Regions from separate parts of the Homo sapiens genome. Here region 2 is linked to region 1. Evidence: promoter capture Hi-C in 16 types of primary human blood cells and fetal thymus (Javierre and others, 2016). All regions are on one chromosome and are shown on one strand. Each heading gives the region's core, a stretch centred on a gene start or on the middle of the fragment in contact. The rest is flanking DNA. Distances are from core to core; before and after follow the strand shown. Region 1 holds the start of PPEF2 (protein phosphatase with EF-hand domain 2). Region 2 overlaps CDKL2 (cyclin dependent kinase like 2).

Region 1 (6,559 bases), core at 1,480-3,979:
TGAGGCAAGAGGATTGCCTGAGTCCGGGAAGGTCAAGGCAGCAGTGAGCTGTGATTGTGCCACTGCAAATACCAGCCTGGGCAAGTAAGACCCGTTCTCAAAAAATATATATATATTTTTAAATAAAAATGGCTTGGCCTACAGAGCTTTCATGGCAGATGGAGAGAGCTGGTTTTCAAAATATTCTGTTTTTAAAAAGTACACAAGTGACTGGGCATCACCATGCTCACGCCTGTAATACCAGCACTTTGGGAGGCTGAGGCTGGCGGGTCACCTGAGGTCAGGAGTTCAAGACCAGCCTGACCAACATGGAGAAACCCTGTGTCCACTAAAAATAAAAAATTAGCCAGGTATGGTGGCACATGCCTGTAATCCCAGCTACTCAGGAAGCTGAGGCAGGAGAATCGCTTGAACCCAGGAAGCAGAGGTTGCAGTAAGCCGAGATTGCGCCATTGCACTCCAGCCTGGGCAACAAGAGCGAAACTCTGTCTCAAAAAAAAAAAAATAATAATAATAAGAACACAAGTAACAGATTTCTAATATAAAAATAAATCAAACAGTACATAATGTGATCCTCTGCCTCTCTTCCCCACTTGTGGATGGCACTCTCCCCATGAGTACCCCTAGTGATAACTGCCATCTGTACTCATTAAGACATTTAAAAATGCATAAACGTTTTAAAATGTAGATTCTATTTTTATTCAGGTATGATAAGGCCAACAGATCAGGGGACAATTGCCATTTAAAAGATAGCTTATTACTCCTCGTTCCCAAGAGGAGAGGTCACACCTGCACAGCCACGGGAGAGAACACTGAGGTTGGTCACAGGCAGAGGACAGGAGAACTGTGGTTTTCGAGGGAAGGAATGGGTGAGGCAGGGTAAGGCGGCTAAGCAGGTGGAGGACTAGCTAGTTGGAATAGTGTCAGCTGACTCCTGACTGTAGACTGCACTGAGTTGTCTGATATATGATGTCAGGGTGATTAGGGTAGAGAGATAACGGCCTTGAGTATGAAAGTCCAAAAAAGGAGGGATTTGGTGGTAGGGCTCTAGATTGGTTAGTTTGCATCTCAGGGATCAGCTAATCCCAGGAGGTGTAGTCTCTCCCTGGTCAACAAGGCCCCAAAATGTCAAAGCATCAATATGGAAACTAGAAAATATGGGTAATACCACATAAAAAAATATCTTAGGTTATTTTCCAACTTTTCCTAATCACAAATTATACAGTAATAAAAATCCTTATATAGATTTTTGCATGGGTGTATAATTCTGTAAGATACTTAGAAGTATAATTTCTAGATTAAAGGATTTACATATTTTAAGTATGTAATTTAATAAATTACAATTAAAATTTAATTTAATTCCCCCAAAATGAAACATTTTAACGATCCCAGCAATAGTATATGGAGAGGGTCCTTTTTCTCATACTCTCAGTAATACAGGATTTTATCAGTCTTTTAGTCAACTTGGAGAAAGAATGTTAGCAGTCAGCCACTAACAAAAACTAAGCTAATGTGAAAATGTTAATATCAGACAAAAGAGAATCAAATGCAAAAAGAATTTTAAAAGGCAGAGTGATATTTAATTTTTATGTCACCCTCTACCAAGACAGTTAAATGACAATACGGCTTCATGTGTAATTACACAGTTGCCGATGGCAATTTTACATGGTTTAAATTTAATATCTAATTATATAGCTTCAAAACGTGTAATGCAAAGACTCAAATACAAGGAGAATTTGCTAAATCTGTACTTGTCATAGAAATCTTCAAAATACCTCTTTCAAAGATGGTCAGATCAGGAAGAATAAACAAAGATAAAGAGGATCTGAATTAATATAATTAACAAATTTAGGCCGGGTGTGGAGGCTCACACCTGTAATCCCAGCACTTTGGGAGGCTGAGGTGGGCAGATCACTTGAGGCCAGGAGTTGGAGACCAGCCTGGCCAACATGGAGAAACCCTGTCTCTACTAAAAATAGAAAGACTAGCTGGCCATGGCAGCGGGGGTGCCTGTAATCCCAGCTACTCGGGATGCTGAGGCATGAGAATTGCCTGAACCCAGGAGGCAGAGGTTACAGTGAGCTGAGATTGTGCCACTGCACTCCAGTCTGGGCGACAGAGCAAGACTGTCTCAAAATAATAATAATAATAATAATAATAATGAACAAACTTGACCTACTAGATATAGACAAACAGAATATCACTTTCTTTGAGAATTTCCATGGTGCATTTAGTACCTACCAGAACACACACACGAGCATCTTAGATTAACTGAAAAAGTAAGTTGTCCAAGAATAGTGATTAACCACAGATTAGGTTATATCCTAAGGAAAGTGTCCATAGAAAGGGCAGGATATTTCAAGCAGGCTTTGCAAACAGAAAAGCCAGCCCCAACAAAGAATGCCTCCTATGTGTCTTCTGCTGAGGACTCCCCTTGGACTCCAGAGCCCCTAGGCCCCTGTGTCTTGTCAGCACTCTGCTATTTCAGGGCTAAGGAGCTCAGGCTTCTCAGATGTGGCCTGGGAAACACAGTCTTCTAATCCAGGAGAGTAAGAAGATTTAGGACTGACGTGGGTGCTGTTAGAGAAACCCATCTCCTTGGGTATATGGGAGATACCCCGACTATGCAGTCGCCCCCTTCAAATCTTCCTTGGGGGCCTGATCTGACTGACGTCAGGGGGTGCCTACTCCTTCGAGGCAAGAAGCCTGAACTTTCCTTCCTGTCACTGTGAATACTTGGCCAGGGCTGTGAATGTCACCATTGCTTTTCAGGAAGAAGACATGGCAGACTAGGGCTGCACCTTCTTTATGGGCTCTGTAGGTCTGAAAGAAATCAGATCAGCCTGGGATCCCTCAGCCAACTCTGAAGACAGGATGGGGATCACGCCTGCATGTTAAAGAGATTTCTGCCTTGTTGTGTCTCATGGTAAATAAAAAACCCAGCAAAGAAGGTAAGAACTTTCTGTCTAGCCTAAAGTAGAAATGGGTGAGAACAGGAGGGCGACACTTATGTTTTTACCTAGGAAATAAATACAGAGTTGTTTTGAGACAAAGGTCAAAGACAGCTCCTCTGTTATCTATCAACTCATCCAGATGGGGTCTTTGCTATCTGTGTGATGAGATCTTCAAGTGCTGGGTGACCATTCTGCCCTGGATTTCTTGGGCTCACTTAGTGGACAGATAAACACTTTTTTTTTCCACCTAAGAGACAGAGTCTCACTATGTTGCCCAGACTGGAGTGCAGTGGCTGTTCATAAGTGCAATCATAGCACACTACAGCCTCGAACTCCTGGGCTCAAGCAGTCTTCTCACTTCAGCCTCCTGAGTAGCTGGAACCACAGGCATGCTGCACTACCACCCCTAGCTAATTTTTGTTTTTCATGATAATGTGAGGCATTGATGATGCTAAGTCAAATTCTAGAAGGAGAAGGGGTCTCACCCACGTTGGGTGGATGTACTCATCACCTGGAGAGATGGCTCAGCTTGGGAAATCATCAGGGGGAGAAGACAGCTGGTGATTACCAAAGGTGCTGATTCAACAATCTCGGGCTCCCTCAAGCTCGTTTTCTGTGGCTGACCTTATGAAGTTTTCACATTTTTAGTTTTTCCCTTGAGAATTATTCTACTTCCCCTTTCTGTTCATTTCCTTTTTTTTTTTTTGAGGTGGAGTCTCGCTCTGTCACCCAGGCTGGAGTGTAGTGGCGAAATCTTGGCTCACTACAACTTCCACCTCCCAGGTTCAAGCGATTCTCCTGCCTCAGCCTCCCAAATAGTGTAGCTGGTATTATAGGCATGTGCCACCATGCCCAGCTAATTTTTGTATTTTTAGTAGAGATAGGATTTCACCATCTTGGCTAGGCTGGTCTCGAACTCCTGAGCTCAGGGGATCCAACCGCCTCAGCCTCCCAAAGTGCTGGGATTACAGGCATGAGCCACGGCACCCAGCCATTTTTCTTATTGATTTCTAGAATGTTCTCTGCTTGTCCGTAGATGACTCCATCTTCTTCTCTTAAGCAGCCATATGGGATACCTATTTAGTCAGAGCCACTTTCTAATTTTTCTTATGTGTAAAAATTTTAGAAAAATATCATTTATTGATTTTTAATTACAAAAGCTGTAATAGAAGTATATAAGTTAAAAATGGAAATCTCTCACCCAACCTCTTTCTCCAGAGGTAATTACTGTTAATAGCTTGGTGTATAGTCTTTCATTTTTATATACTTACTGACTTTTTTTATACAGATGATATCACACTAGGCGTGCTCTTCTGGAATTTGCTTTTCTTCATGTAACAATATATCTTGGGGCCGTTTTCATATGATTACATATCGACTTGCCTTGTTCTTTGTCATGGTGGAATACATTCCATTGTTTTTAAAGCATCATGATGTATTTTGTTGATTCTTTACTGATAATTATTTAAGGTGCTTTTTATCTGAGGAGGAGAAGAACTTTAAGAGATTTTTGAGGATGTCATTTAAGAAAATTCCTTATCTATGTTTTTCATGACGATGACAAACATTTGCAAAGTACTCCTCATATATAACCTCACTTCACACTCCTAACAACCCTGTAATGACGTTACCATTATCCATAAATAACAGAGAAACAGATGAGACCAGGGAGCCCCAAGGCAGGGATCACATGTGCCTTTGCTGTTATAATGGTAGCTAGGTACCCCTTTTCCCCTTCCACATGACATAGGAAAACATATCCTTTTTGTCCTTGGTGACAAAAGGTCACCAAGAGTTAGTTACAACTACCTAATGGGAGACTTCATTTCTTTCATCTCTTGTGGTTGTTCTAAATAGTTTATTGGCCCATGATAGATATCAACTTCCTTACTCTAGGCAATGCTATATTTCTATCTCCAATAAATTCTTTGTAGGTCATCTTATTCTGCCACCATTTTTGAATTTATAAATTCATGAGAAAAAAAGTTGCCTAAGGGCAAAAGAGGATTTATTTAATAAAAATCTTTGACCCAGCAATAATCAGTATCCATCCTGCTGATTCATGCAGCATTGAAATAGTATGCCTTTTACTGCCTCCAAGAACATATTTTTGGTTGTTGATATTTTAAAATAAATATGACATCAGATTCAGTCCATCAACATATATTGAGGTTTTATTGTATAGAAAGCACTTTAAATATATCATTTATGATCCTTGAAGATACATAGATGAGAAAACTGAGTCTCTGAGAGCTTAAGTGCCCAAAATTGAGTGAGAAGGTGAACAAAAATTCTCACCCACATCAAACACTCTTAAATACACAACTTGGCTATGCAGGCAAGTTACCAATGTATCAAAGCAACTTGTGAGTCATTGACAAGCAGAATCATTGCTGAAGTCCCTTCTAGTTCTAAAACTGTGCAAATATTTAGGAGCAGTTTTGTTGGTTTGGACATGATGGCTTCTCACTTTACCCCAAACTCAGATTCTGGTATCATGACATCTCATAGAACTAGGAACCATTTTGCACACAAAAAGAGATCACAGTCTTTTTTCCTCTGGTTGTTTATTCAAAATAAACTAGCCAACATAAGCAAGGTAAGACTTTAATTTTGATTTTCAGAGAAAAAGACAACAACTCTTTGATAATCCCCAGTATCACAACCTTCAAAAATAGCGGAGGAGAGTGGGGTAGAAATGAGGTAGAGAAAAGAGTAAAAGAAGTGGGATTCGCTCTTGATGTTAAGTCAGTACATCTCACATTACCTCCTGAAGAAGAACTAGAGAAAGTGTCATCTTTGTTGTATAAAAAGAAATATGGCATAATGATCCAGCAATCCCACTACACTTTGGGTGTATATCCAAAGGAAGCAAAATCAGTATTTTGAAGAGACAATTGCATACTCATGTTTATTGTAACATTATTCACAATAGCCAAGACATAGAATCAACCTGTATGCCCATCAGTGGATGAATGGATGAAGAAAATGTAGTATATATGTACAGTGGAATACTATTCAGCCATAAAAAGGATGAAATCCTGTTCTGTGTGACAATATGGGTGAACCTGGAGGACATTATGTTAAGTGAAATAAGCCAGGCACAGAAAGACAAATACTGCGTGATCTCACTCATATGTGGGAGCTAAAAAAGTTGAGATCATGGAAGTTGAGCATAGAGTAATGATTACTAGAGACTGGGGAAAATAGAAGGAAGCAGGAGATGAGGAAAGTTGATTAACAGGTACAATGTTACAGTTAGATAGAAGGAATAAGTTCTGGCACTCCATTGTACAGTACCATGACTATATCTAACAATAATGCATTGTATATTTCAAATAGCTAGAAGAGAGAATTTTGAATGTCCTCATAACAAAGAAATAATAAATGTTTAAGGTGATGGATATGCCAATTACTATGCTTTGATCACACAATGTATACATGTATCAGAATATCACATTGTATCCCATAAATATGTATAATTATTATGTGTCAGCAAAAAATAAATAAGGCATAAAGTTTATTCAGTTAATATTTATGGAATCCCTACTACATGTCAGGCACTGTGCTAAATCCTGGGGATAAAATGATGAATTTGCTTACAG
Region 2 (6,559 bases), core at 2,492-4,991, 320 kb after region 1:
CTTTCAAGATTTAATTTTTATCTTTTCTTTTCATTAGCTTAAATATGATGTATCTAGACATAGTTTTCTTTGAGTCTGTCCTGTTTGGGGTTTGCCAGCCTTCTTGAATCTTTAAACTTATATATTTTACCAGATTTGGGGAGTTGTTGGTCATGTTTTTTGAAATTTTTTTTTCTGCCATAATCTCTCACCTCTCCTTCTGAGAGTCTAATGATATGTATGGTAGACCATTTAGTATTTTCTCATAGGTTCCCGAGACTCTGTTCACTTTTTCTTAATCATTTTTCTTTCTGTTCTTCAGATTGGGCCACTTCTATTCATCTATCCTCAAGTTCTCTGACTTTTTACTTTATCATCTTCATTCTGCTATTAAGTCCATCCAGTGAGATTTTAAAATTTCAGATACTGTGCTTTTTAGTCCCAAAATATACATTTGGTTCCCTTTTATAGCATCTGTTTCTCTGCTAAGAATTCCTATCCCTTCATTCATTTCAAGTATGTTTTCCTTTACTTCATGTAGCAGAGTTATAAGGGCTGCTTCAAAGTCTTTATATGATGGTTCCAACAGGTTTCTGTTTTTGTATTTTTGTAATAAGTAGAAGAGATGGGCTGTAGTGGGCTTACACTGCCTTGGCAGATCAGAAGTATCTTTTAACATATGCATAAACTAAGATCAAAGAATAACATCCACTCAGCAGTCATGTTTGGGACTAAAGAAAAGGAAAAGAACAATGTCCCCTTACTTCATTCTTTTCCATGTAGGCAACTTGAGCTATGAATAGTTAATTATAAACATCTAATATTTGAACAAATAGAATTGAAATTTTGGGGAAGTGGAACTTTTGCAATTACTGAGAACCTATGATGCTCTATTATTAATTTATAGGTATCAGGACCTCCCCTGTCAGATGATTCAGGGGCTGATTTGCCTCAAATGGAACACCAGCACTGAGAACCATTTTGGTTCTGAACTGGGTAGGTGTGATTTCCCATACTTAAAGCTGTGCAGCCTTTCACAGGTACTATTTTGTGGCTTGCTGAATACCAATTTTTCAGCTGAAACCGTCTCCAGTGATTGATTCCATGAGAACTTCTGATAGAGAAAGAGTTGTGCCACTTAGAAAACCAGAAGTAGTATTTATCTCTGAGATGAAATCCCTTTTCGCAGAGCGTACATCTCTTGCTCTTAAACTAATCTCCTGCATTTTATTGGATATAGTAATGTGAATTTAGGGTGACAAGTGCTCAAGAAAGATATATACCTATCTCCCTTATCAGTCATTTGCCCTGTGGGCCTGTAAAGCAAGATTGATTGATTATAATGATGCCTCGGTTAATGTTCTGAAAGATGCATCCTTAGGTGATTTCACTGTTATGCTAACATCACAGTTTACTTACACAAACCTAGATGATATAACCTACTATACTCCTAGGCTATATGGTATAGCCTATTCCTCCTAGGCTACAAGCCTGCACAGCATGTTACTGTACTGAATACTGTAAGCAATTGTAACACAATAGTAAATATTCATATATCAAAACATAGAAAAGGTAATGCATTGCACTATGATGTTACTAGCTACAATGTCACTAGGCAATAAGAATTTTCAGCTTCATGATAATCTATGGGACTACCATTGTATATGCAGCTCATTGTTGACCTAAACATTGTTATACAGTGCATGATTATACTTGGCAATATTTTTCCCAATAAAGAGAGATCAGTGCTATACCAAATTATTGACTTCCTTTTAAATATAACTTTTTTAGTATTAAAAAAGCCAAGGCTGGGCGCGGTGGCTCACGCCTGTAATCCCAGCACTTTGGGAGGCTGAGGCGGGCGGATCACGAGGTCAGGAGATCGAGACCATCCTGGCTAACACGGTGAAACCCCGTCTCTACTAAAAATACAAAAAATTAGCCGGGTGTGGTAGCGGGCGCCTGTAGTCCCAGCTACTCGGGAGGCTGAGGCAGGAGAATGGCGTGAACCCGGGAGGCGGAGCTTGCAGTGAGCCGAGATCGCGCCACTGCACTCCAGCCTGGGCGACAGAGCGAGACTCCGTCTCAAAAAAAAAGAAAAAAAAAAAAAAGCCAAAACAAAAATCAGACATTTTTTTTGAGATGGGATCTTACTGTATTGTCCAGGCTGGAGTGCAGTGGCGTGATCTCGGCTCACTGCAATCTCTGCCTCCTAGGCTGAAGCGATCCTCCCACCCCAGCCTCCTGAGTAGCTGGGGCCACACGTGTGTGCCACAAAGCCCGGCTAATTTTTTGTATTTTTGGTAGAGATGGGGTTTCACCATGTTGCCCAGGGTGGCCTCAAACTCCTGAGCTCAAATGATCTGCCCGTCTTGGCCTCCCTAAGTGCTGGAATTAGAGGTGTGAGCCACCATGTCTGGCCAATCAGACCATTTTGAATGATAATTTATTTGCTCAAGCAAGTCATTCAATGTTTAATATCTCATTATGTAAAATATTATGATGATAAATTCCCACATTCTCACAACTGTATTTATTTATTTTTTTGAGACGGTGTCTTGCTCTGTCTCCCAGGCTGGAGTGCAGTGGCACAATCTCAGCTTACTGCAACCTCCAAGTGATCCTCATGCCTCAGCCTCCTGAGTAGCTGGGATCACAGGTGTGTGCCACCACGCCCAGCTAATTTTTGTATATTTAGTAGAGATGGGGTTTCACTATGTTGGCTAGGCTGGTCTTGAACTCCTGACCTCAGGTGATCTGCCCACCTTGGCCTCACAAAGTGCTGGGATTACAGTCATGAGTCACCATGCCCAGCCCCTAACTGTATTATTGGAATTAATCTGTTAACCTTTACAAAGCATTTTGAGCATCTGTGACATCAAAGGTGAATGTACTGTGAAGTGAACAAAGCTTAAGTTTTGATCTTTCATTTGCACAGGTCCTTTCAAGGCCGTGGGAGAGTCTTTGCAATGCATTCATTTGAGTTAATTCATGTTGAGCAATGAACAACTAATTCATACAAACCGTGTAAACTACAGGGTCTGCAAAACTTGGATGCATTTTGTCAAAATTAGTCATTATTTGCATAAAAGGAGATGTGTGTTACACATGATAGTTTTTCTTTTTTTTGAGACGGAGTTTCGCTCTTGTTGCCCAGGCTGGAGTGCAATGGCGTGATCTCTGCTCACTGCAACCTCCACCTCCCGGGTTCAAGTGATTCTCCTGCCTCAGCCTCCTGAGTAGCTGGGATTACAAGCATGGGCCACCATGCCGGGCTAATTTTTTTGTATTTTTAGTAGAGATGGGGTTTCTCCATGTTGGTCAGGCTGGTCTTGAACTCCCAACCTCAGGTGATCTGCCCGCCTCGGCCTCCCAAAGTGTTGGGATTACAGGCGTGAGCCACTGCACCCAGCCATACGCAAGATAGTTTTGATTGGTAATTATTCTAAAGATTGTCTTAAAAATTTGCTTTTGATACATCTAATTGAAATCTAAGGTTTTCTTAAACTACATAGTACCCACCAATGTTATCAATATATACGATGTGAGAAAGCAAGTGAGATAGAAATTAATTTTTAGAAAGATTTTTTGTAAAATAGTTGGTGGTATATCCTCCTGTGCTTTTAGATGATGCTCTTGCACTTGAGATGACATCTTCTTGCAGCAAGAGTGCTGATATCCCAAGAGGAGAGATTCATGGTTTTGATCATTTCCTTCTGAACTGCCTGCATTTTCTGAGGAAGGCCTTCTAGAAGAAGGAAAGACAAAGACTTCCAAATGTTTCAAAGGAAGATTGAACAAATGGCCCTCCCCAACTGTTATCCCATTACCTTTCACGTCCACCGATGCTATTTCAAGACATATCCAGTGGAATAACAGTGATATGGTTCTTGTTACATGAATGTGTATTTACTGTTAGGAGATTGTATATTTTAAGTTACCATGATTAAAAGTGTGTAAAAAAGGGGGACAGAGAGAAATACTATAAAAGGCCATGTTACTCATGCATTGAACTTTGTGTGTTTTCTGTATAAATGTGTACATTTATTTAGGAGTGGGTTTCTTGGGGGTAGGTGATAAAAATTAGGATCAGTTGAAGAAAATTGAAGAAACTAGGATCAGTAAGAGAAACTGTTTGCTTTACCTGAATTTAACTATGAAAACACACTTAACAATCTTACACGTTTCTAGATATTAAGTGAATATGTAACTCCTGTCCATGGGTAGATGTGTATCTTTGACTTCTGTAATTATTTTTGATATTCTATCAGTGTATTATGAGACTCTGGCCTCCCTGCAGATCTTCTAAGAACCACACTAATGCAAGCGTGACAGAGAAACCTCTTTCGAATGACTTACTACAACTCTGGCATTGGTTAGTTCCATGTATTGTAAGATTCTGGTGCTAATGCTCCATACAGAATTGATCAGGACTGATTACTCTTCTGTGGACCAATTGCTATTGAACTACCCAGCTGAAGAGGGTTTGGGGAGAGAACGTTCATTATTATGGACTCCACTTTTGTCCCCTGGTAGTTTAAGGGTGATACTAGAATCCAGAGAAGTTCCTGTCTCCTTGTGGCCTCAAACACTCAGGCCGTCTCAAAAGCTTTTCACCAAGGTGCAAAATCATTTACCTGCATTCCACACATCTTTTCCAATGCATGGATCCAAAACTTTTTAGGTGGGAGGAATAAACTAAGTTGGCTACAGGTTCTTGATTTCTGGGTTTCTACACATGCTCTGCATTTATCATTTTAGAGAATGGTTGTTTAGGGAACCAGAATTTGTGAGTTTTTTTTTTTTTTTTGCCTTAACTAATTAATAGTGTGTTGCTTTTTTTCCAAAGCCATTGACTAGAACTTAGCTGAAGAATTTAACTAGAACTTTTCTTTATTACTCTGAGGAGCTTAATACTGAAATTCTGACCTTGGATATTTAAGCCTCAAAAGAGTAGGACATTCAAGAGGAGGCAAATAAGGGGTTTCAATGTACAAGTCTATAGGTGGTGGTTAAATTAAAATTGGTCTTGATTTAAAAGCTCTACTTTTAATCTGTGACCAGCTGTTTGACAACATTAGTATGGATAACATGCTGAAAAAACTAGGGTATCAGCATTAATAGGCTGCATATTAAAAAGTTACTACTTTATTTTTACTTTGAAAAACACTGCCAATAGATTCTGCAGCATGGCAAACAGGTAATACTTAAAGCCAAATGGCGCTTCGGCTTATTTCAATACTATTTTTATGTAAAGATCAGTGTGAGAATATCAGCTCAATGGTTGAGGTTCTAGGATCAATTGCCTTGCAGTTTTTATACTAGCTTTTGATATCTTTTGCCTATTAAAACACTTTGTGAACTTTAGAATTAAGGAACTAAAAAATATTTACCATAAGTCCAAGTTATGACTTGAGGATCATATCTGATTAGAACTGTGGCAGAACTACTAGAAAAAGATTCTGCAAATTGGTTTCAGTGATTCTTGTTGATGTAATCAACAAGATTACATAATCAACAATAATAGATATTGAACCAAAATGATCCTTTTTTTAAGTTTAAGGTTATTTAGTTTCTCTTGCAAGGATATGATTTAGTCACACACTAATAGGGAATATGTGTATGTACTGGTGGGGAGCAGTGGGCTTGCTGCATGTATGTATGTTTTAAAATTAATAAATATTATCTTACTGGGCTCCATAGATGGTTTAAATTTAGATTTATTTAATTAAGAGGCTATAAATAATATATACACTACTGTATGGTATTTAACAAATAAGTTTTAAATCTGTTAATTCTTCTGGAAAACTTTGGATGTAGGGATGGCAAGCTAATTTTCTTGTATAGCTGGTGATATAAGCAGCATGGTCATAAAATAACATTTCTTATAAAGACTAACTGGTAATAGTTGTGACAGAACCTGGTTTTCCTGACTGAGAATCCCTTGCTTGCTTAGAATATCTGACTTCCCATTGAAATGGAACATAGAAAATGTGTTTTCTTATGTGACTCTCATTATTGGTTCCTTTATCTTAGTTGTGCTACAATATAAGGCTGGACCTGTAATACACTATGTATCAGACTAGACTGAAAAATGTGATCGATTTGTTTTCTAAGTCCTCCTCTATATAACTGAACCATGGTCAGGGGATTAGAGAAGCAACAGAGCACTGCTCCTAAGGCTTTAGGCTAGTCTTAGTGAATTGGACTGAATGGATTTTTCTCTGTTGTTTTTTGCATTAAGTGTTTTTGCACTAGAAGAGGGTGCTTAACACTCCTCTATCTATATGAATAAAAAATTATGTTCTCACATTGTTTTCTCAAGGGTCTTATTTTTTCTCTTGACAGCTTCAGACATGAAATAACTAGAAAATGTAATTAATGTACAGCATATTTTTTTCTTAACATGCCCTCTGAGAAGTAAGTACCTTATGTTATCACTCGTGGGTAACTTGTGATTTAGAGCTTTGTGTTTATAGATATTTGTGGATATCTGATGTTGAATATATTCTGAGAAATTTTCTTTAAAACCAAAACCCATCCACGAGACAGCACTTTTCTTTGTTTTCAGTGAAAATTT

The links. The method cuts DNA at HindIII sites, captures the fragments that hold promoters and counts their contacts. A CHiCAGO score of 5 or more calls a contact.
Region 2: a contact is called between a fragment that was not itself captured here and the fragment with the promoter of PPEF2 in region 1, in 3 of 17 cell types (neutrophils, non-activated CD4 T cells and erythroblasts). The highest score is 6.2, in neutrophils.

What each region holds. Positions count from the first base shown.
Region 1 is chr4:75,898,622-75,905,180 of GRCh38, reverse strand. It overlaps PPEF2 (protein phosphatase with EF-hand domain 2), which reads left to right and starts at 2,729. Exons shown (of 17, transcript NM_006239.3): 1 at 2,729-2,951. The HindIII fragment of the contact is 14,377 bases long and covers 1-6,559 here.
Region 2 is chr4:75,576,226-75,582,784 of GRCh38, reverse strand. It overlaps CDKL2 (cyclin dependent kinase like 2), which reads left to right. Exons shown (of 14, transcript NM_001330724.2): 13 at 887-975; 14 at 3,607-6,289. The coding sequence ends at 952. Among named protein-coding and RNA genes, the nearest start is that of ODAPH, 23 kb to the right of the region's middle. The HindIII fragment of the contact is 1,699 bases long and covers 2,892-4,590 here.